Linked DNA regions of Homo sapiens: all the other regions are linked to region 5. The links are contacts of gene promoters, found by promoter capture Hi-C in blood cells and fetal thymus (Javierre and others, 2016). All regions are on one chromosome and are shown on one strand. Each heading gives the region's core, a stretch centred on a gene start or on the middle of the fragment in contact. The rest is flanking DNA. Distances are from core to core; before and after follow the strand shown.

Region 1 (2,856 bases), core at 58-2,557, 650 kb before region 5:
CTTGGCCTCCATGACGTCTGAGGAAGCGGCACTCGATGCGCCATCTTGGAGCGCAGAGCATGCTAAGGCCTTCAACTTCAGACTGCAGAGCCGGGGCACCTACAATTTTCTGACATCACCCAGCCTCAGGTATGCAATGACGGCCGCACAAACATAAAGCCCACTCAGACAGGGACCCGTGCCCGCTGACCTCCAGCGCGGCGTGGGCGGTCCTTTCAGAGGCAGGCTGTGGTTGGGGAGCTTGGCGCGGACTTTAGGAGGCCGGGTGTGCAGGTAGAGGCCGGACACGAGTAGAGGCTAGATGTGCAAATAGAGGCCGGGCACGAGTAGAGGCCGGGCACCAGTAGAGGCCAGGTGCGCGAGTAGAGGCCAGTTGTGCGAGTAGAGGCCGGGCACGAGTAGGGGCCGGGCACGCAAGTAGGGGCCGGGCACAAGGAGGAGGCTGAGCGCGAGTAGGGACGGGGTGCAAAGAGGAGGCCGGGCGTGAGAAGGCCGCGCGCGAGGAGGCCGGGCACGAGGTGGAGGACACGCGCAAGGAGGCCGAGATTCTCACCGGGTCTGTGGAGACGCGCACCCCAGGGGTCATGCCCTGGCTTCTGGCAGGAACGGCTGGCCCTGCTCTGTGGGAAAGGGGAGGTGAGCAGCTGGGGCAGGCAGAGGCGGTGCTCAGGTCCCCAAGCCGGGGAACTGCGCCAGAGCCTGGGGAGCTCCGCGGAGAGCCGTCCAGGGCCCCGCGTACCCGTTTAAGCGCCTGCTGTGTGTGGGGCGGCCCTCCGCTCGGAGAAGGGCAGCCTAGGGTTTTCCCGCCTGTCTGAGGGAAGCTGAAGGCCTGGCGGGTGCGGACACATATCTGCTGCGCAGACTCTGAGCCTTAACGCTACAGTGACAAGGGCCGGGTGGTTGCGGTCCCCTGGCCCTGGGCACTATGCCTCAGTTTCTCTCTTCCATCAACAAAGGTGGCGGCCCAGTGCCCGGTGTGGGGCAGAGGTGGGGCCAGGGGCGGGGCGCGCGTTCCCTCAGGGGCCGTCGGAGCAGCTCCTGTCCAGCTGGGCGTTGGGCCCCGCCCTCCTCTCAGACTAGGGATGCCCCGCAAAGCCTGCCCCCGCCAGCCCCGAAACGGCCTTCCCCAGGCCCCGGGCAGCAAAACGGACTCCACACAGACGCGCGCTGCTGGAAACTCGCCCCGCCAGGGCCTCAGGAAGATCCCCGGACCCCCCGCACCCGGCCCGGCCCGGCCCGGCCTGGCCTCCCCTCCCCCTCCTCGCCGGCCTAGCTCACCCTCCTGACTGCGAGACAAAGGCCGCGGCACCGGCAGCCGACACTGCGCCGGCGCGAGCCTAACTCCATTTCCCAGAGAGCCGCGCGCGCATTTCCGGCCGCCCTCCCCCACCTCGCTCTCGCCCTTGGCGTTCGTGAGCTCTCAGTGCTGCTGGAGCTGGAGTGACTGGGCCTGGTGAAACAGGGCGCGCGGGGTGCCTGGGCATCAACGCGGGATAAGTGCCGCTTGGAACGCCGTGAGCTCCCGGCGCGACCACACGGGCTTTCGTGTTGGAAACTCTACCGTCAGTTTTACTGCTGCAAACAAAGCAATGATTTTTTCAAAACACATACTTTCAACCAAAACATTCACCAAGATCGCACACACGGGAGTCTTTGCATTTTCCACACTGAGGCAGCCATGGAGACTTCACACTGTATTTATTACATGGTTATAAGGAACATCACGTGCAAGACACTAACAATTATGACGACTTTGGACATTGCTAGGTAATTGTCAAAATTGTGCATTTGAACAGCAGCAAAATATTCAAAGCTGGTGTGCCCTCGCTGACACGAAATGAATTGTCATTTTCTGAACATTCACCAAAGCCTGCCAGGCGCTAGGCCTAGGTTCAGCAGCACACAATAGTGAAGCCCCCATTCAAGCGGGCTTCGTTTCACCAGCGTACGTCACACGTCCGTGGAGCAGCGAGACCAGAGGAGCTGGGAAAGCCAGGGCTGAGCCTTGTGCTTTTGCCCTTTTAAGGGAGGACAGATTAATTCCAATCAGCCTGGGCTTGGGAGCTGTATTTGAAGCAGAGGAAAAGTTTTAAGACGGGCATTTTTTTTTCTTTGACTGAAACAACTCTGAAAACAGCAGAGAACACAATACGAATTCTCGTACCACACACAGACACTTGCAAAGATTTGGCTGGTTAACACACAAGTTAAGACTTTAAATTTCATAAGCCCTAAAACAGTGGCAATTATGAAGAGATATAATGGCTCAAAATCATAATGCACTGATGTAAACAAAGCAAAGGCAAGCTTCTTGGCTTTTAAGGGCGTCCTGTACATTCCAAGTACTGTAAAGCCCCACATTTGTGACCGTCGCACTGAAAGCCAGCCTGCTTTTCACTCTACAGCAGTAAAGAGGCTTTCCATTATACATAAAATGCCGTTTTTCAGTTCTCGAACTCACAAACCCAAATGCCACAAAACATCTTTTTGTGTATTTTTTCTTTCACAAAATGTATACTCTTGCCCCCCACCCCCACCCCCAACCGTTTCCTTTTACTGGATCAAAAGGTATGAACACACAACTCATGGTGAAGTCTTTTTCCCAAGCGGTCTGATAGTCCTGGTGAGAAGCTGTCAGTGGTGCCACACTGAGCCTGCTCAGCCCTGATGGTGGCCAGGCGGCCCTGCCCAGCTCCCTCAAACTTGCCCCTCTGTTTCCTCCCTCAGACCTTCTGATCCTCTGTTTTTCTCAGCCAGGTTTCTAAACCGTACATGCTTTTGCAGGGGCGGGCTCTTTCTACAGGGGCAAGTGCTGCTTGGCTCCAGCCAAGTGGGGTCGTGCGGACTGGCAAGCCC
Region 2 (2,812 bases), core at 98-2,597, 950 kb before region 5:
CCACCTGGGCTGAGGTGAGAGCTCCCTAGTACAAATTGGGAAAAATTGGTACAAAAAGAGCTCGTGGAGGCCGGGTGCAGTGGCTCGGGTCTGTAATCCTAGCACTTTGGGAGGCCAAGGTGGGAGGATCACTTGAGCCCAGAAGTTCAAGACCAGCCTGGGCCATATAGCGAGACCCCGTCTCTAGCTATTCATTTATTTTAGCTTACAGCATCTGGTCTATGTTGTTTTTTGAGACGGAGTCTTGCTCTGTCACCCAGGCTGGAGTGTGCAGTGGCACGACCTCAGCTCACTGTAACTTCTGCCTCCCCGGTTCAAGCGATTCTCCTGCCTCAGCCTCCCGAGTAGCTGGGATTATAGGCACACGCCAACAAGCCTAATTTTTGTATTTTCAGTAGAGACGGGGTTTCACCATGTTGGTCAGGCTGGTCTCGAACTCCTGACCTCGTGATCTGCCCGCCTCGGCCTCCCAAAGTTCTGGGATTACAGGCGTGAGCCACCGCGCCCGGTTTATTTATTTATTTTAGCCAACAGCACTCGGTGTTCCCAGACGGTCTCCCAAGTACTAACCAGGCCCGACCCTGCTTAGCTTCTGAGATCCCGACTCAATTTTTTTTTTTTTTTTTTGAGACGGAGTCTCGTTCTGTCGCCCCAGGCTGGAGTGCAGTGTCGCGATCTCGGCTCACTGCAAGCTCCGCCTCCCAGGTTCAAGCGATTCTCCTGCCTCAGCCTCCCGAGTAGCTGGGACTACAGGCGCCCGCCACCACGCCCGGCTAATTTTTTGTATTTTTAGTAGAGACGGGGTTTCTCCGTGTTAGCCAGGATGGTCTCGATCTCCTGACCTCGTGATCCGCCCGCCTCGACCTCCCAAAGTGCTGGGATTACAGGCGTGAGTCACCGCGCCCGGCCCCCGACTCTATTTTAAAAACCGCGTGGATTCCAGCTTGGTGGGTGTTCCACAGCGCGTGGGTGTGAGACGCAGCTCAGTGGCGTCAACTCAGCAAGGTTCCAGGGTGGTAAAGACGGCCTGGGGCCGGAGGAGGACCGCCAGGGAGAAGCTACGTTGGCCCGACTTGCGTCCGCGACCCGGGCAGCCCCAGGCGCCTGTGTAGCTGTTGGGTGTGTGCCGCAGAGGCTGGCCGGGTGCAGGAAGGGGCGGAGCGCATCCATGGCAACGCAGGACGCCCGAGTAGCTTGGCTGTGGCGCCGTCCCCATGGGAACCAGAAGGCGCGCGCCCGCAGCCGCGGCATAGTTACGCAGGCGCAGTGGGGAGAAACGCGACGCCTTGGGCCGCTCTGCCGAATGCAACCGCGCCCCCAGGAGACCCGGTGCCCGCCCTCCTACCATTCCACGCGGCTCGAGCCCGCGTGCGGGCCTCTTTCAGGCCGCTCCTAGTGGACGCAGAGGCGGGCCGAGGACGGTGAGTGACGCCGACGGACACCCTCGGCCAGGCACAGATCCGCCCTCCGGCTCCAACCACTCCCGCCGCGCGGGGCAGGACGGGCCTCGGCCCTGAGCTGGGCCCTCTGGGACCACCGAGAGATAGGCCTCCGCGCCGTCCAGAGCGGCCCGGAAGTGGCCCTGCACGGGCCAGAGGCGACCGTGGTCGGGACGGAAATGGCTCCCGTTTGCTGTTCTCTCGGTGAACGCGAGCCTTATGGCGATCAGTTCTGTGGCATCGTTCCTCCTGCTCGTTTATTCTTTCACTCATTCACTCATGCCCTGCCGCGCCATCATTTCTTCCCACATTCATTTATTCGTTCATCAGTCCCCAGCCCCGGGTAGTTTCGGAGCTCACCAGGCTGGGCTCGCCTCCCAGCCTCCGGAGCTGCCCGCACAGGCCTCGCGCCACCTGGCCGCAGCTTCCTCCCCTTTATCCACTCCGTATTTGTTTGTCCAGCCTAGGCCTTGGGGGTTGTGGGGGAGACACAAGTACCCGTGACTGGTCGGACAAGTGCCCGTTGTTGGGGGCGTGGGCGCTGGGACTGACGCGGGAGGTGGCTCTGATCATGTCGAGGTGAGGAGGAGGCGTTGAGGCTCAGAAAGGGCACGCAGCGTGGACGTGAGGACGTCGGGGAGGCTGGAGCAGTGAGGCCGACAGGAAGGACCTTACGGGGCTCACATGCTATCCCACGACGAGGACGGACTCAGGACGGCAGCCCTGATAGATGCGGCTGGGGGCTGGCGGGTCGGGGTCGCACACCACAGGATGGAGGGGCAGCGGTGCCTGGCTCCGCCTTAAGAAACATGGGCCCTTGGGGGACCCGGATTTCTGATACTTCAATACACAAATATGGATTTTTATTGAAATCAGATGTCGTTTTTTTAAAATTTAACTTTTGATTTGAGGTAATTATAAATTCACATGCAGTAACAAGTAATGCATACCCTATGTACGCTTTACCCAATTCCCCTAAAGGTGGCATCTTGAAAAACTAGAGGCCAGGTGCGGTGGCTCATGTCTGTAATCCCAGCACTTTGGGAGGCCAAGGCGGGTGGATCCCTTGAGCTCAGGAGTTAAAGACCAGCCTGAGCAACATGGTGAAACCCCATCTGTACTGAAAACACAAAAATTAGGCGGGTGTGGAGGCTGGTGCCTGTAATCCCAGCTACTCGGGAGTCTCAGGCAGGAGAATCGCTTGTACCCAGGAGGCGGAGGTCGCGGTGAGCCCACATCACGCCACTGCACTCCAACCTGGGCAACAGAGCGAGACTCTGTCTCAAAAAAAGAGAAGAGAAAGAAAAACTAGAGTACAATATCACAACTGAGATGCAGAATATTTCCATCACGAAGGATCCCCGTGTTGCCCT
Region 3 (2,877 bases), core at 101-2,600, 900 kb before region 5:
TGTAAAAGCTCCCTGCAAATGAGCTTTTACAAGGTTCCATGGATATTCACTTTGGTTCTATTCCAAATTGGTCACACAAATATGAATATGATTGAAATGACAGTGCAATTGCTGCTACAATTGCAAACTTTGTACCTGCTTTCCCAGCCACAGAACAGTAGCCTTTAACATTGCTACCTTTGTTTGTAATTCGGTATTAATTTTATTTTGAAGCATCCATGCCTGGTTGGCTGTACATGTCCAATTTTCTACATATTGGGCTGTTTGAATAGAACTATGTAGTGCTACTGAGGACACTACAACCGAGGTTATTAGTGTGACTAAGGAGATTACAGTAAAAATTACTATGTTTAAGGCTTTACGTGCACGATGAGTGAGCTGGGTAAGAAGGAGTTTTACAAAATGTAAAGCAGGGGTGGCAGCCCAAGGTTTGCACAAATTGACAGGGATCCATAATCCAGGGATACGACCCAGAATTATTAGAGTGGATATGTTGTGTGTTTGTATTGTGCTATGATTGAGGCAGTGATACAGTTGACAAGAGTCACAAGTCAACTGGGTGATGTTTACGTGGAGTTGGTCCTTCTTAGATGCTAGAAAAACATAGGGATTAAAAACACAAACTGGCCGGGCATGGTGGCTCACGCCTGTAATCCCAGCACTTTGGGAAGCCAAGGCGGGTGGATCACGAGGTCAGGAATTCAAGAGCAGCCTGGCCAAGAAGGTGAAATCCCGTTTCTATTAAAAATACAAAAAACAAAAAATAGCCTGGCACGGTGGCGGGTGCCTGTAATCCCAGCTACTCGGGAGGCTGAGGCAGACAATTGCTTGAACCCGGGAGGCAAAGGTTGCAGTGACCCGAGATTGCGCCACTGCACTCCAGCCTGGGCGACAGAGTGAGACTCCATCTCAAACAGTTAACAACAACAACAAAAAACCCACAAACCGTAAATTGAGTGGTAATATTTTTTACAAAGGTGATATTAAAACTGTGTTGAGTAATATTACTATTGTTGGATAATGTTCTGACCCAGATGCTGTTATTCATAAATGGGAGTGTTGCCTTCCATATCGATTCCTGAATTGGGCCTCTGTTTCCTAGATGACGTCACTGAGGTAAGGGCGGGTTAAAGCCTGTCCTATACCAAGCAAGTTGTGCAGCCAACTGGGGGACTGAATCCCAGTGTGATGTGATGAAGAGGTGTTGAAGGTCCACCACCAGTGCCAGTGAAGTTTGTGCCAAGAGGTCTGATTTTCATCTCTCCCCTCTAAATGGCCACGGGGACCCCAGTCAATGTTTCCCATTAACATAGACTGTTGTCTGGCCAAGGGGCCAAGACACTGGGTCCAAGGAGGGGGGTGAGAAATATCAAAGGGAGCCCATTCCATATAATCCATACAATTTGAGTGATGGGGCTAGGAGTGATTGGTGAACACGCCAGTAACATTAATAAAGCTGAGGCCTAATAAATACATAATTTTTCCATGGTGACTTAACCATGCCTGAGATTGGACTGCAAGACAGCTGCAGTTGAGTGACGTATCCATGGTGATACATAAAGGGAGTCCTTCCAATGGGCCGGTGTAATTGATGCTATTGCTCTGTGTCAGACGGAGTTAGGGGTCCTGGTGCCCACGCTCCCTGATCATAATATATCTCAGGAGGAGTGTCGCTCCAGAGTACCAGTCGTACTACCAGTGGGTTAGGAACATATGCCCAATATGTTTTTGCCTCTACACAGGGGAAACATACCGCACAGGACACTACAGCTAGCATGGCCAAGAACATGGAGTCAGGGGTTTTTGCCTGACCCTGGCGCTCCAGTAGTTTCTCAGCTTCTTGTGTCGTTTTCTTGATCTGTCCCCATGTTATGGGGTTGGATGTCATTGTGACTCCGGTCGGCCCTTGTTCTGTCTTTGCATTCAGATTCCGCTGGCTCATGGCTCGTACTGGAGGTAACAGGCCCACGGTTGAATACCATGGATCCCTCCGGTCTCCCGTTCCATGGTCACACACACCTGGAGGGCACCCACACGGTTTGTCCATCTCCTGTAAAAACACAAGCATACCCTCGTCCCCACGTCAGCAAATCCACCGGACCTTTCCATTGTCCTTCTTCTGGGGATTTCCATAACACTTTTGGATAAACTTGCCTCTTTTCCTCTAGCAGTTGCCAGTGTCGTTCTGCTGGGGTCTTGCCATCCGTACCAGGAGTCAAACAATTTAAAGTAAACAAGGCTAAATGTAATTTTGTTTGAAGTGGTAATTGGTCCCCTATTCTCCCTTTTTGTTTTTTCAGCATGCGTTGTAGTGTTTGATGTACCCGCTCAATAATGCCTGGCCCTCAGGGATTGTATGGAATTCCTGTTTTATGATTGATTGCCCACAATTGTAAAAAATTGGGAAAGCATGACTAACATAAGCGAGTCCACTGTCAGTTTTAAATTGTTTAGGGACCCCCATATGGGCAAATGACGACAGACAGTATCGTCAGACATGACCAGCTGTTTCCCCAGTTTGGCATGTGGCATGTAACATATGGGAGTAAGTGTCTATATTACATGAACATAGCGGAGTTAGCCAAAGGCTGCTATATATATGTAACATCCATCTGCCAGATTTCATTTGGAGCCAAGCCTCGTGGGTTGCATCCTTCCACAGGTGCAACACCAGGGACATGCTGGCAAGTGGGGCAGGCTTGCACAATAACTCAAGCCTGGCTGCGAGGCAGATGAAACATACGAGTAAGGGCAAGTTGTTCTGATGCAGTAAAGCATGGGAAGCTTGGGCTTGTTGAAATATAGAACTGATGAATTTATCTGCTCTATCATTACCTAGAGATAGTGGCCCCAGGAAGTTGTGTGTGAGATCGGATA
Region 4 (2,700 bases), core at 62-2,561, 690 kb before region 5:
GTACACCATACTGTAAACACGTACTGTCATCCAGGCTTTGTTTACATTTATAGACAGCACTCAGAGTAGATTTAACTTAAATCTTAAGGCCCTAGGGTTTTCAGAATGGTAAATGAGCTTTGGTTTCAACTTAAAGTCACCAGTTGCATTAGCCCTTAACAAGAGTCGGCCTGTTCTTTAAAGCTTTGAAGCTAGGCACTGACTTCTTTCTAGTTGTGAAAACACTACCTGGCATTTCTTCCAACAGAAGGCTGTTTTCTTTACATTTAAACTGTTGTCTACTGTAGCGACCTTCCTCAGTGATCTTAGCTAAATCTGGAGAACTTGCTGCAGCTTCTGCATTAGCACTTGCTGCTTCACCTTGCACTTTTATGTTACGGAGATGACTTAAACTTCATGAACCAACCTCTGCTAGCTTCAGACTTTTTTATTTTATTTTATTTTATTTTATTTTATTTTATTTTATTTTATTGAGATGGAGTCTCACTCTTTTGCCTAGGCTAGTGTGCAGTGGCATGATCTCGGCTCACTGCCAACCTCTGCCACCTGGGTTCAAGCAATTCTCATGCCTCAGCCTCTTGAGTAGCAGGGATTACAGGCACTTGCCACCATGCCTGGCTAATTTTTTTTGTATTTTTAGCAGAGATGGGGTTTCGCCACGTTGACCAAGCTGTTCTCAAACTCCTGACCTCAGGTGATCTGCCCATCTCTGCCTCCCAAAGTGCTGGTATTACAGGCATGAGCCACCACACCCGGCCCAGACTTTTTTTTTGTTTTGTTTTGTTTTGTTTTGTTTTTGAGACAGCCTCACTCTGTTGCCCAGGCTGGAGTGCAGTGGCACGATCTCAGCTCACTGCAACCTTCGCCTCCCAGGTTCAAGCAATTCTCCTGCCTCAGACTCCTGAGTAGCTGGGACTACAGGCGCACGCCACCATGCCCAGCTAATTTTTGTATTTTTAGTAGAGGTGGGGTTTCACCATGTTGGCTAAGCTGGTCTTGAACTGCTGACCTCAGGTGATCCATCCCGCTTGGCCTCCCAAAGTGTTGGGATTACAGGCATGAGCCACTGTGCCTGGCCGGCTCAGAATTTTCTTCTGCATCTTCCTCGCCTCTCACAGCCTTCATAGAAATGAAGAGAGTCAGGACCTTGCTCTGGATTAGGCTTTGGCTTAAGAGAATGTTAGTTCTCTTTGGGTAGTTTGATCTCCTATCCAGACCATTAAAGCTTTCTCCCTATTGGCGACAAGGCTGTTTCAGTTTCTTGTCATTCACATATTCACTGGAGTCACACTTTTCATTTCCCTCAAGTTTTTCTCTTGGCCATCACAATTTGGCTGTTTGGCACAAGAGGGCTAAGTTTTGGCCTGTCTTTGACACGCCTTCCTTACTAAGCTTAATCATTTCTAGCTTTTGATTTGAAGTTAGAGGTCTGACTCTGCCTTTCACTTGAACACTTAGTGGCCATTGTAGGGTTATTAACTGGCCTAAGTTCAATATTGTTTTGTCTCAGGGAATAGGGAGGCCTGAGGAAAGAGATTGAGAGAGAGTGCGTACCAGCGAGCAATGGCAGGTTGGTGGAGGAATCAGGACACACAACATTTATCTGCTGAGTTCATTGTCTTATATAGGCGTGGTTCCTTTCACTCCAGAACAATTACAATAGTTACAACAAAAATTACTGATCACAGATCACCATAACAGATAATAATAATGCAATAGTTTGAAGTATTGTGAGAATTACCAAAATGTGACACAGAGACACAGAGAGCATATGCTGTTTGATAAATGGTGACAATAGACTTAATTGACACAGGTTGCCACAAACCTTCAACTTGTAAAAAATGCAATATCTGCATAGGATAATTAAGCAAAGTGCAAGAAAACAAGGTAATGCCTATATCTGGAAGTTAGTCGTGACACAGAACCTAAAGACTTACCGTATTTCCTTTATTCTGTGATACATATCTTGCCATATTTTAACATCTGAAAACAAACCAGGTTAATCAGTGATATGGTTTAATTGGCAGCCTTTTTTTATTTTTTTATTTTTTTTTAGAGAGAGTCTCGCTGTGTCACCCAGGCTGGAGTACAGTGGTGCTATCTTGGCTCACTGTAGCCTCCACCTGCCAGGTTCAAGCGATTCTGCTGCCTCGGCCTCCCAAGTAGCTGAGATTAGAGGTGCACACCACCACACCCAGCTAATTTCTGTATTGTAGTAGAGACGAGGTTTTGCCAGGCTGGTCTTGAACTCCTGACCTCAGGTGGTCCACCCACCTCGGCCTCCCAAAGTGCTGAGATTACAGGTGTGAGGCACTGTGCTAGGCCTCAGGCAGCCTTTTATTAGCACATAAAATGTACATGTTACCATCTGTTATCTTGGAATCAATGAAATAAGAGTAATATCAGAAGGAGGAATTGAATGACTAGTGAGAGTCCATTTGAGGAGAAATACAACTCTCAAGGAAAAAATCTTGTTGCTGAGATGACAATTAACATTGACATATCCGATGCAGTACAAAATGGCAAGTCTGTGTGCCATTGTAGTCCTTCCTACCTTGCTGAATAATCATTGTTACCTGCCTTCTTTCTTATAGCCTGTGTCAGCCATAATTGTTATTTTATTGCAAGATTTTTAAAGTTCATAATGTGGGGGGAAGCCAAACAGCACAGAAGAGTATATGGTTTGTTTGTTTGTTTGTT
Region 5 (2,949 bases), core at 407-2,906:
AACTGCCGACCTATGTGTACATATTTAGAAGGATACTGGTTCATTAGTGGTTAAATAAATGTTTTATACATTCGGCCGGGCGCGGTGGCTCATGCCTGTAATCCCAGCACTTTGGGAGGCTGAGGCGTGCAGATCATGAGGTCAGGAGATAGAGACCATACTAGCTAACACGGTGAAACCCCGTCTCTACTAAAAATGCAAAAAATTAGCCTGGCGTGGTGGCGGGCACTTGTAGTCCCAGCTACTCGGGAGGCTGAGGCAGGAGAATTGCTTGAACTCGGGAGGCGGAGCTTGCAGTGAGCCGAGATCGCGCCACTGCACTCCAACCTGGGCGATGGAGCGAGACTCTGTCTCAAAAAAAAAAAAAATGTTTTACACATTCATAAATAAATAAGTTGCAGGGAGGGGATAAGCAAGCAGGTCAGTTACTGGTCCCATCAGCAACCAGGCCTGCCTGCTACAAATTCAGTTGCTGGAAGCTTGCTGGAGGCCCTTGACTAGATGTGAGAAAGCCCTACCCCCGTCTGGACCCAATGTCCCCACTAGTCTGGATGACCTTCCTATTGTTCCACAGAGTGGGCCTGGGGGGCTGCTGGGTCTGCAGGTGCAGAAATCTAAACCACCTCACACCTCAGTCTCCAGCCTAGGCCAGTTCCTTAACCCATTCAGAACTCCGTTTTTGCAGATATGAGCCAGAATCCCTCCTATGACAGGTCTGCGCCTTTCTAAAGGTAGCGTCAGGCTTATGGACCCACCCATGATCTGCCCTCCAAAACTCAGCCCTCCAAAATGCAACTCATAATCCTCTCTGAAACCTGCTCCCTAAGCTGACTTCTCCAACTCCATTCTTTCAGATTTTCAGGCCAAAACAAAATCCATGGAATAGACCCTTCACTACCCTCACTGCTACATTTGATGCAGCAGGAAATCCTGTCGACTCTATCTCTGAGATCCATCCAGAATCTCATCACACTTCCCCTCTACTGCAACCCCTCTGGCCCATCCCTACCATAACTCAAGGGGTCTCCTCAGCGGTCCCCTTGTCCTGGTTTAACATCCTGTTTTTCCCAACTTTAAACGTCTACCTCTGGGCATAACCCTTCCTGCACAGCCTTCTACGGCTTTCAGCAGCTCCGCTGCCCTCCCAGGCGAGACTCCGCCTCACCCTCAGCTCCGTGGAGACAAAGACGCTCGGGCTCCCCAGTGCCGCCCGCTCTGCAGCACCTCTAAGCCTCGCACGTGCAGGTCCCTGACAGGAGCTCCCCCGCCTCACAGCACCGCGGACACCGGTACCCCACACAAGAACGCTCCTCTCTTTGGGACACAGGGGCCTGACCTGCAGGGCCCCTCCTCGGGGCTTCGGCACTCGGAGGAGGGATCGGGCGGGGCGCCCTGGGACGCGGCACCCACCTCAGTCAGGTTCATCGGCGCAGCCTCCGCCAGCACAGCCAGGGAAGAGCGGGGCGGGAGCGGCAGTGACCTGGACGCTGACAGAGGCACCAACGCCTGCAACCGATTCAACCGAGCCTCACTCTAGCCTCTGTACAACGGGGAAACCTTTTCTCGCGTTTTTCCGCTTTTTCACCTCAGTCTCGACTCAGCCTGAAGGTGAACAGATCCCAACGCAGCCATATTGACAACCCCAGGAGGCGTTGCAGGAAGTCCCGCCCACACGCATTGCGAACCCCCGTAGACGCCGCTCTGCTAGGCCTTCATTGGCTACACTCGCTGCTTGTGTCCGCCGCTGTGTCTTTTGGGTAATGTAGTTCCCAGGCCACTGCCTGCCCCGCTTCTGAACTTAAGTTAACTCGCGTTCAGGATGAAAGCCAGGAGGATCCTCCTGAGGCTTTGAGAAATGCAGTTGCGGGGCTCCAAGGACGTGGAGGGGCTTCATTGGCTTTTAAACGGCAAGCATCCAGATTTTCCCGGAAGGCAGTCTAGAACAAGTCAGAGAAATGTTTCAGAGACCTGTCCTTTCAGATTCTGTAAAGCACAGCAAGTTCCCAAAAGACGAACATCCGAAGGAACATGGCCAACCATAAAGAACTGGTCTTCCACGCATAGCGGTCAGCTCTTTTGTGCTTGCCAAATACACACAGAACGAAGCTCTGGAGACTGTTTTATGATCTTCAATGTGCTCTGCTGGGCACATTGAAAAGACCCAGACATGGCATGATGGGGAGTTTGAGGAGTAATATCTTTCCTTTCTGAATAATCAGTTATTGTCTTTCAGCCTACCCAGCAACACTTTATTCACATGATACTTATTACTTTATATCTGAGATATTTTCCACTTATTTTAAGAGACTGAAACCTAACTGAAAAGGAAAAGCGACTTATCTACCATTATCTGCCAGAATAGTGTGGCCTTCCACCAGTCAAAGCCCTTGTGCAAAGAAAGCATCTTACTCCTGAGATAAAGGTTTGGGAATGCATGATCTCATCTCATTAGTGGAAAGTGATTTATCATTTCGCCTGAAATTGTATCAACAGTGTCTGCACAGGGAGTTGAAATTGTCTCTGAATAACTCTTGTGAAATGGCTATTACTGAAACTATTAATGACGATTATGTAGATATCCAAAGAAAGTGGCAAAAATAGTTATAGAGAAACATATTTGTGATAGGAGGAAAAAAGCTAAGGTTGTCCTGGAACCTTGGACACACTCAAGTTTGGTGTCCAAAATCTGATTCTTTTTCAAACTTGAAAACATTGTGCATTAACAGCTTGAAGGGAGAGGTAAAGACTATATATTAAAAGAGTTACCAGAAAAGTAAAGCTGAATAGGGAAACTGTGCTGTCGTATTTATTACTCTAACATATTTGATGAACACTCATTCGATGCCAGGTACAATACTAAGTGCATGGGACACATTAGGAGTAGGGTTGCTAGCTGTCTGTGGTCCTCTAAGACACGTAAGACGTATTTAATGAATTAGTCCTCAGTCC
Region 6 (2,846 bases), core at 233-2,732, 720 kb before region 5:
CCTGAGCTCAGGTGATCCACCCACCTCAGCCTCCCAAACTGCTGGAATTATAGGCGTGAGCCACCGCGCCTGCCCCCAGTTTATGTTTTCACAGCTGCCACTAAGGTACCCTGCCAAGCACGCTGACCACTTTCCAAGCCCTCTTCCCTTGTGACCTACCAAAGCTTTATATTATTGTACTTCATTTTATTTTTACTCACGTGAAATGTGTATATTTTGTGTTCTTAAAGTCGCAGTTTGGAATTGCCTGAATGATAGAATGAGAAAATAAATATTGATGTTTTCAGGACATTTCTTTTTTTTCTTTCTTTTTTTTTTTTTTTTGAGGCAGAGTCTCGCCCTGTTGCCCAGGCTGGAGTGCAGTGGCGCTATCGCGGCTCACTGCAAGCTCTGCCTCCCGGGTTCATGCCATTCTCCTGCCTCAGCCTCCCAAGTAGCTGGGACTACAGGCGCCCGCCACCACGCCTGGCTAATTTTTTGTATTTTTAATAGAGACGGGGTTTCACCGTGTCAGCCAGGATGGTCTCGATCTCCTGACCTTGTGGTCCACCTGCCTCAGCCTCCCAAAGTGCTGGGATTACAGGCGTGACCCACTGCTCCCAGCCAATGTTTTCAGGACATTTCTATTTTCCCTTCACGAAGTGCTCTTTGATTACTTTGCCCATTTTTTTTCTTTTTATGTGCTGTTCTGTAAGAATCCTCTGTAGTTCTTGGGCAGTAATTCTTTGTGCTTTTAAATCTTATTTTCTCTCTGTAAGAATCCTCTATAGCTCTTGGGCAATAATTCTTTGTGCTTTTAAGTCCTATTTTCTCCCTATCTGCCACTTGCATTTTGTCTCTTATTGTGTCTTTTATTGGATGGAAAATTTGAATGCTGATATCAGACTTCTTAATCCTTGTCTGTTTTTTATTTTTTGGTTTTTGTTTTTTGTTTTTAAGACATGGTCTCTTTTGCCCAATCTGGAATGCAGTGGCACAATTACAGCTCACTGCAGCCTCAGCCTTCTGTGTGGGCTCAAGTGATAACTCCCACTTCAGCCTCCCAGAGTGCTGGGATTACAGGCATGACCCCCAATGCTTGGCCATATGGTTTTTTGGTTAAGTTTTGTTGATCAAAGTCTGCCACACTTATGAAGGCATACTACATTATTTAAACTTTGACTTTATGTTGCAGCCTGTATCCTTCTGAAATGTAAATACACGCGCACACACACACACACACACACATATACACATATACATGTATATATATTTAAATTGCCTAGAATGTAGACATATATGTATGTATGTATTCTGAGGCAAGGGTCTATTTTCATTTTACCTTAAAAAATAGAAAGAAGGCTGGGCACAATGGCTCATCCCTGTATTTGCAGCATTTTGGGAGGCTGAGGTGGGATAATTGCTTGAAGTTTTTGAGATTGAGGCTTCAGTGAACCAAGATCACACCACTGCACTTCAGCCTGAATGACAGAGCGAGACCCGATCCCACCAAATGAATGAACGAATGAATGGACAACCAGTTGTCTTAATATTGTGAAGTCTGAATGGACAAGGATGGTGACAGGAAGATTGATATGCATGAAGACACATGCAACCATTTACAGAATGCCCTTCATCCCCTAGCCTTGGAGACTGCTTTGTACATGATCCAGTTTTTTTTTTTTTTTTTTTTTGAGACGGAGTCTTGCTCTGTGGCCCAGGCTGGAGTGCAGTGGCACGATCTTGGCTCACTGCAAGCTCCGCCTCCCGGGTTCGCGCCATTCTCCTGCCTCAGCCTCCCGAGTAGCTGGGACTACAGGCGCCCGCCACCACGCCTGGCTAATTGTTTGTATTTTTTTAGTAGAGACGGGGTTTCACCACGTTAGCCAGGATGGTCTCAATCTCCTGACCTTGTGATCTGCCCACCTCGGCCTCCCAAAGTGCTGGGATTACAGGCGTGACCACCGCGCCTGGCCGACATGATCCAGTTTTTATAACAACCATGCAGGGCAGTCTTTGACAGTTTTTGTTTTGTTTTGTTTTTTGAGATGGAGTCTCACTCTGCCGCGTAGGCTGGAGTGCAGTGGTGTGATCTCAGCTCACTGCAACCTCTGCCTACCAGGTTGAAGTGATTCTCCTGCCTCAGCCTCCAGAGTAGCTGGGACTACAGGCATGTGCCACCACGCCTGGCTGATTTTTTTTGTATTTTTAGTAGAGACGGTGTTTCACCATGTTGGTCAGGCTGGTCTTGAACTCCTGACTTCAAATGATCCACCTGCCTCCACTTCCCAAAGTGCTGGGATTACAGGAGTGAACCACTGTGCCCCGCCAGGTCATTGACAGTTCTAAGACTTAGACCCAGAACTTTTAGGTCACCAAGCCTGTGCTTTGTCCTATCCATGAATGCAGAACTTTGATGACAGAGCTGGGGTGAGAACTGTTCCTTCAGTGCTGTTGTAAGCTCATTGTGAAGTCAGAGCTTTGGAAATGTGTACTGATGGGCAGTGTGTGACAGGGACAAGAATGCAGTGGCTGGGATGGAATTCTAGGGGGAGCAGGGATGCTTGGCCTCTGGTCTCTCACATCTCAAACTAATCCTTTTGGTGATGATTTATCCCGAGGTCCATTCCTCCTGCCTGCTCTCTAGGAAGATGAAAATGCTACATGGCTCTTTTTGAATCTGTTCTTGGTTCCATTCCTTGGCTACGATTTTACCTCTTCCTTGTATAAATTTGAATTTAAAAGAGAAAACAAGTAAAAAAATACACATCTTTACACCTAGCCCATCATCATTGTCTGTTTCTCTTACAGATAAAGCTTCATATACCTAAGTCTGCATTTTTCTTCTTTTTGCAGTTTGGGATATG
Region 7 (2,789 bases), core at 237-2,736, 820 kb before region 5:
AGACATCTGGAAAAACAGCAAGACCTGCCTTGTGAGGATGCTAAAAGAATTAATTGAGTTGCATTTACAGAGCTTAACATTGTGTTAACCTGCAAAAGGGGCACAACACATGTATTCATAGTGATTATACTTGGACATAAAATTCCCCATCTGTTCCTCATACTGGACCTGTATGGTGGCTGATCTGGCAGAAGTCCCTCTGGCTGCAGGGCTGGGGAGGGAGTTGCTTTCTCTTTCCTTTTCCAGTTTTCTCCTTCCCTGCTTGTGGGGTGACGTTTCCAATCTGCTCCAGGTTACGTGTCCAGCCCAAACCTCCTGGGCTTCCTGCCACTGCCATTCCCTCCTCCACATTCAGCCATGTCACCCACATGCTCCTCAACTCCCATGCAGAGACTGACCAGGCATACCACATCTTCCTTGCACTGTGACTTCTACCCTGGCTCCACGCTGGAAACAGAAACACAGTCTTCCTCCACTCCTTCCTGTCTTTTGGCATCCCTCCTTACACGGAGTCATTTCCACAATCAGATGTTTCCCTACTCCCTTAGACTCTTGAAATCCAACCCCATGCCTTCCTCATTAGCACTGCCTTGTACGGTCCCCATCAAATATCACCCAACACAAATGGAACCCCGATCCCTAACTTACAGGCGTTACATACACATCCCATCCTGTTCACCTCTGTAGTCTCTCTATGGGGTGCACCAGCATCGCTTAACCAGTGCAGGCCCCCAACACCCCAGTTACCCCTGCCCTGCGTGGACTGGCCTTAATCTTCTGTTCACTTGGAAAATACACATGTTCTCTGCAAGGTTCAAGCTTCACGTACCATTGGAAGAAAATGTGTCCACGTCTGGAGCTGGGATGACCTCTGGGGTCCAATAGGCGTCACCTGCCTGGTGCCGCTGTGCCAGGAGGCTCTTGGCTGCCACCTGTGGATAAGCCGCAGAAGATGAGTTGAGGGAGGAAAAAGGAGCCGGGAGAGGCCCGCTGGGTCGGCAGCCCCAGAGCTCCAGACGCCAGCCTGAATCCCCCGCCCCTGCAGCCCTCGACCCAGGCACCCTCTGTCGGGAGGGCCCACCCAGTCCCACCCAGTCCCACCCAGTCCCACCCAGTCCCACCCAGTTCCACCCCTGCCCGTACCTGCGAGGTACTATAAGTTCCCTCCCAGCTCTGCAGCAGGAGAGCCTCCCGACAAGCTCAGACCCAGCCGGGCGCTCCTGCAGGGGAAACCTGACTGGACCGGCCTTCCCCGTCCCTGAGGCCGGAGAGATCCCGATCCCATCAGGCCCCTGCCCTTGCTCGGCCTCGCCGCATGAGGGACCCCCGCAGGCCCTGCTCGTTTCTCCGGCACGCCCAGATCACTTGGGGCGGCTCTGGCCTGGTCCTGCGCTCCGGCCGCACCCGGCTAACAGTGAAACCTCCGAGCCAACCTTGAGGCCGCCAGACTCACCTGCACGCACCGGCCAATGGCGGTGCTTCCGGTGGCCGGCGGACGTGCCCGCGCTCCGCGCAACAAACAACTCCCAGAAGGCCGCGCGCCGGTAGCCGTTGCTCCCACAGGCATAGTCATTGCCGGCGGGAGCATGGGGCCCCGCGGCGGCGGGATGAGCTTTTTCCTGTGTTCGCGACTAGCATTGTGGCTTAGGGAGTTGCTTCCCGCGGCTCTGCTCCTTGCAGCGCCTGTCCCCTCCCCCTTAAACGGGCCACGCTGGTTCTCATCCAGCAACCGAAGCCGAGACTGTGGAGGCGGCGGTCGGCGTCCAGGGCGGGACTAGCGCCTATGGGGCTCGGCGCTGTCATCTCGGGTGCCTTCCCGGCGCCTTGCCCTGCTGGGGAGAGAGACCAAGACTGAGCCATGAGAACAGTCCAAGGCCGTTAACCGGGAGCTCAGGGGCAAGGGCGCCCGCCAACATCTGCGCCTGTGGCAGGGACTCAGGGACAGCCTGGGCGTGGGGACGCGTCCTAGTGATAGAAACAAAGCCCCGGGAGTGCCCTGCTTGGAGCATTCCGAGTGGAAGGTGGAAGCACGCTAACTGGAGGCGATTCGTCCTAGGTGATCGCTCAGTCGAGCCTATTTGGCTTTCTGTGGTAGCTCCTAAGTGGGACAGGGAAAAAAATAGGGAGGCTGGCAGTGACCAAGTTCTGTTTTGTACCTATTGCTGCAGAAGTTGTGGGACAGAGTTCTGTTATTATAAATGGTCTGATGTTCAGTCTCAGTGCGTTGTGGGGCTCAATGTCTGAGACCCACCACCGCCTGACCCGTCCTGGCTCTTCAATGAGGGAGACCACAGGAAACTTTCCTACGAAGGCCAGGTAGGCGGGAACCACTGTGGCTCAGGCACCCTCAGCTCCTGGACTGTGCTTTTGTGTCTGGGGTGCATCTGTGACTAGCCTTCCTTGGCTTGACTGTTTTGTAGCTGACCTTGTCGATAGCTTTACCCAACAGTCATCATCTTTTTACTTGCTTATTTTCATACCTGGCTAGCACGACCCTGCAATTTTTAGATTCTTCCGGGAAATCTAGAATCTAACTCCCTAAGGGAGGATCTTGATGGATTCTAAGCTAATCAGAATGGACTCAAGCTTCTTGCTGTGTGAATTAGGCAAGGATATTCTGGCCAAGGAGAAATAAGGCTGCTAGGGGTTTCCTGGGAAGGTTCCCTCAGTCTTTTTTTTTTTTTTTTTTTTTTTTTTTTTTTGTGAGACGGAGTCTCGCTCTGTCCACCAGGCTGGAGTGCAGTGGTACGATCTAGGCCCACGGCACTCTCCGCCTTCCGGGTTCACGC

The links. The method cuts DNA at HindIII sites, captures the fragments that hold promoters and counts their contacts. A CHiCAGO score of 5 or more calls a contact.
Region 1: the fragment with the promoter of ZNF135 here is called in contact with the fragment with the promoter of ZNF17 in region 5 in 7 of 17 cell types (total CD4 T cells, naive B cells, fetal thymus and 4 more); the score reaches 6.9 in total CD4 T cells.
Region 2: a contact is called between the fragment with the promoter of ZNF497 here and the fragment with the promoter of ZNF17 in region 5, in 1 of 17 cell types (fetal thymus). The highest score is 6.1, in fetal thymus.
Region 3: a contact is called between a fragment that was not itself captured here and the fragment with the promoter of ZNF17 in region 5, in 1 of 17 cell types (neutrophils). The highest score is 5.4, in neutrophils.
Region 4: a contact is called between a fragment that was not itself captured here and the fragment with the promoter of ZNF17 in region 5, in 1 of 17 cell types (total CD4 T cells). The highest score is 6.4, in total CD4 T cells.
Region 6: a contact is called between a fragment that was not itself captured here and the fragment with the promoter of ZNF17 in region 5, in 2 of 17 cell types (total CD4 T cells and naive CD4 T cells). The highest score is 5.7, in total CD4 T cells.
Region 7: a contact is called between the fragment with the promoter of ZNF544 here and the fragment with the promoter of ZNF17 in region 5, in 2 of 17 cell types (total CD8 T cells and non-activated CD4 T cells). The highest score is 8.2, in total CD8 T cells.

Annotation. Positions count from the first base shown.
Region 1 is chr19:58,057,733-58,060,588 of GRCh38, reverse strand. It overlaps ZNF135 (zinc finger protein 135), which reads right to left and starts at 1,307. Exons shown (of 5, transcript NM_001289401.2): 1 at 1,279-1,307; 2 at 554-620. The coding sequence starts at 586. The HindIII fragment of the contact is 3,956 bases long and covers 1-2,309 here.
Region 2 is chr19:58,361,286-58,364,097 of GRCh38, reverse strand. It overlaps ZNF497 (zinc finger protein 497), which reads left to right and starts at 1,347. Exons shown (of 3, transcript NM_198458.3): 1 at 1,347-1,421. ZNF497-AS1 (ZNF497 antisense RNA 1) reads right to left here and starts at 1,472. Exons shown (of 3, transcript NR_136527.1): 1 at 1,346-1,472. It also overlaps the pseudogene RNA5SP473. RefSeq lists enhancers at 1,653-1,782, 1,512-2,060. The HindIII fragment of the contact is 6,825 bases long and covers 1-2,812 here.
Region 3 is chr19:58,311,339-58,314,215 of GRCh38, reverse strand. It overlaps ERVK3-1 (endogenous retrovirus group K3 member 1), which reads right to left. Exons shown (of 4, transcript NM_001396080.1): 3 at 1,754-2,050. The coding sequence starts at 2,047. ZNF8-ERVK3-1 (ZNF8-ERVK3-1 readthrough (NMD candidate)) reads right to left here. Exons shown (of 7, transcript NR_144447.1): 6 at 1,754-2,050. Among named protein-coding and RNA genes, the nearest start is that of ERVK3-1, 7.4 kb to the right of the region's middle. The HindIII fragment of the contact is 2,872 bases long and covers 1-2,786 here.
Region 4 is chr19:58,102,475-58,105,174 of GRCh38, reverse strand. It overlaps a transcript of ZSCAN18 not described here. Among named protein-coding and RNA genes, the nearest start is that of ZSCAN18, 5.6 kb to the right of the region's middle. The HindIII fragment of the contact is 167 bases long and covers 1,228-1,394 here.
Region 5 is chr19:57,409,868-57,412,816 of GRCh38, reverse strand. ZNF17 (zinc finger protein 17) reads right to left here and starts at 1,656. Exons shown (of 4, transcript NM_001330617.2): 1 at 1,411-1,656. RefSeq lists a silencer at 957-1,159 and enhancers at 1,403-1,462, 1,543-1,652. The HindIII fragment of the contact is 5,033 bases long and covers 482-2,949 here.
Region 6 is chr19:58,129,501-58,132,346 of GRCh38, reverse strand. ZNF329 (zinc finger protein 329) reads left to right here. Exons shown (of 4, transcript NM_024620.4): 4 at 2,836-2,846. The coding sequence starts at 2,844. Among named protein-coding and RNA genes, the nearest start is that of ZNF329, 20 kb to the left of the region's middle. The HindIII fragment of the contact is 2,632 bases long and covers 167-2,798 here.
Region 7 is chr19:58,227,611-58,230,399 of GRCh38, reverse strand. ZNF544 (zinc finger protein 544) reads right to left here and starts at 1,486. Exons shown (of 7, transcript NM_014480.4): 1 at 1,454-1,486; 2 at 830-932; 3 at 1-6. RefSeq lists an enhancer at 784-1,610. The HindIII fragment of the contact is 1,767 bases long and covers 822-2,588 here.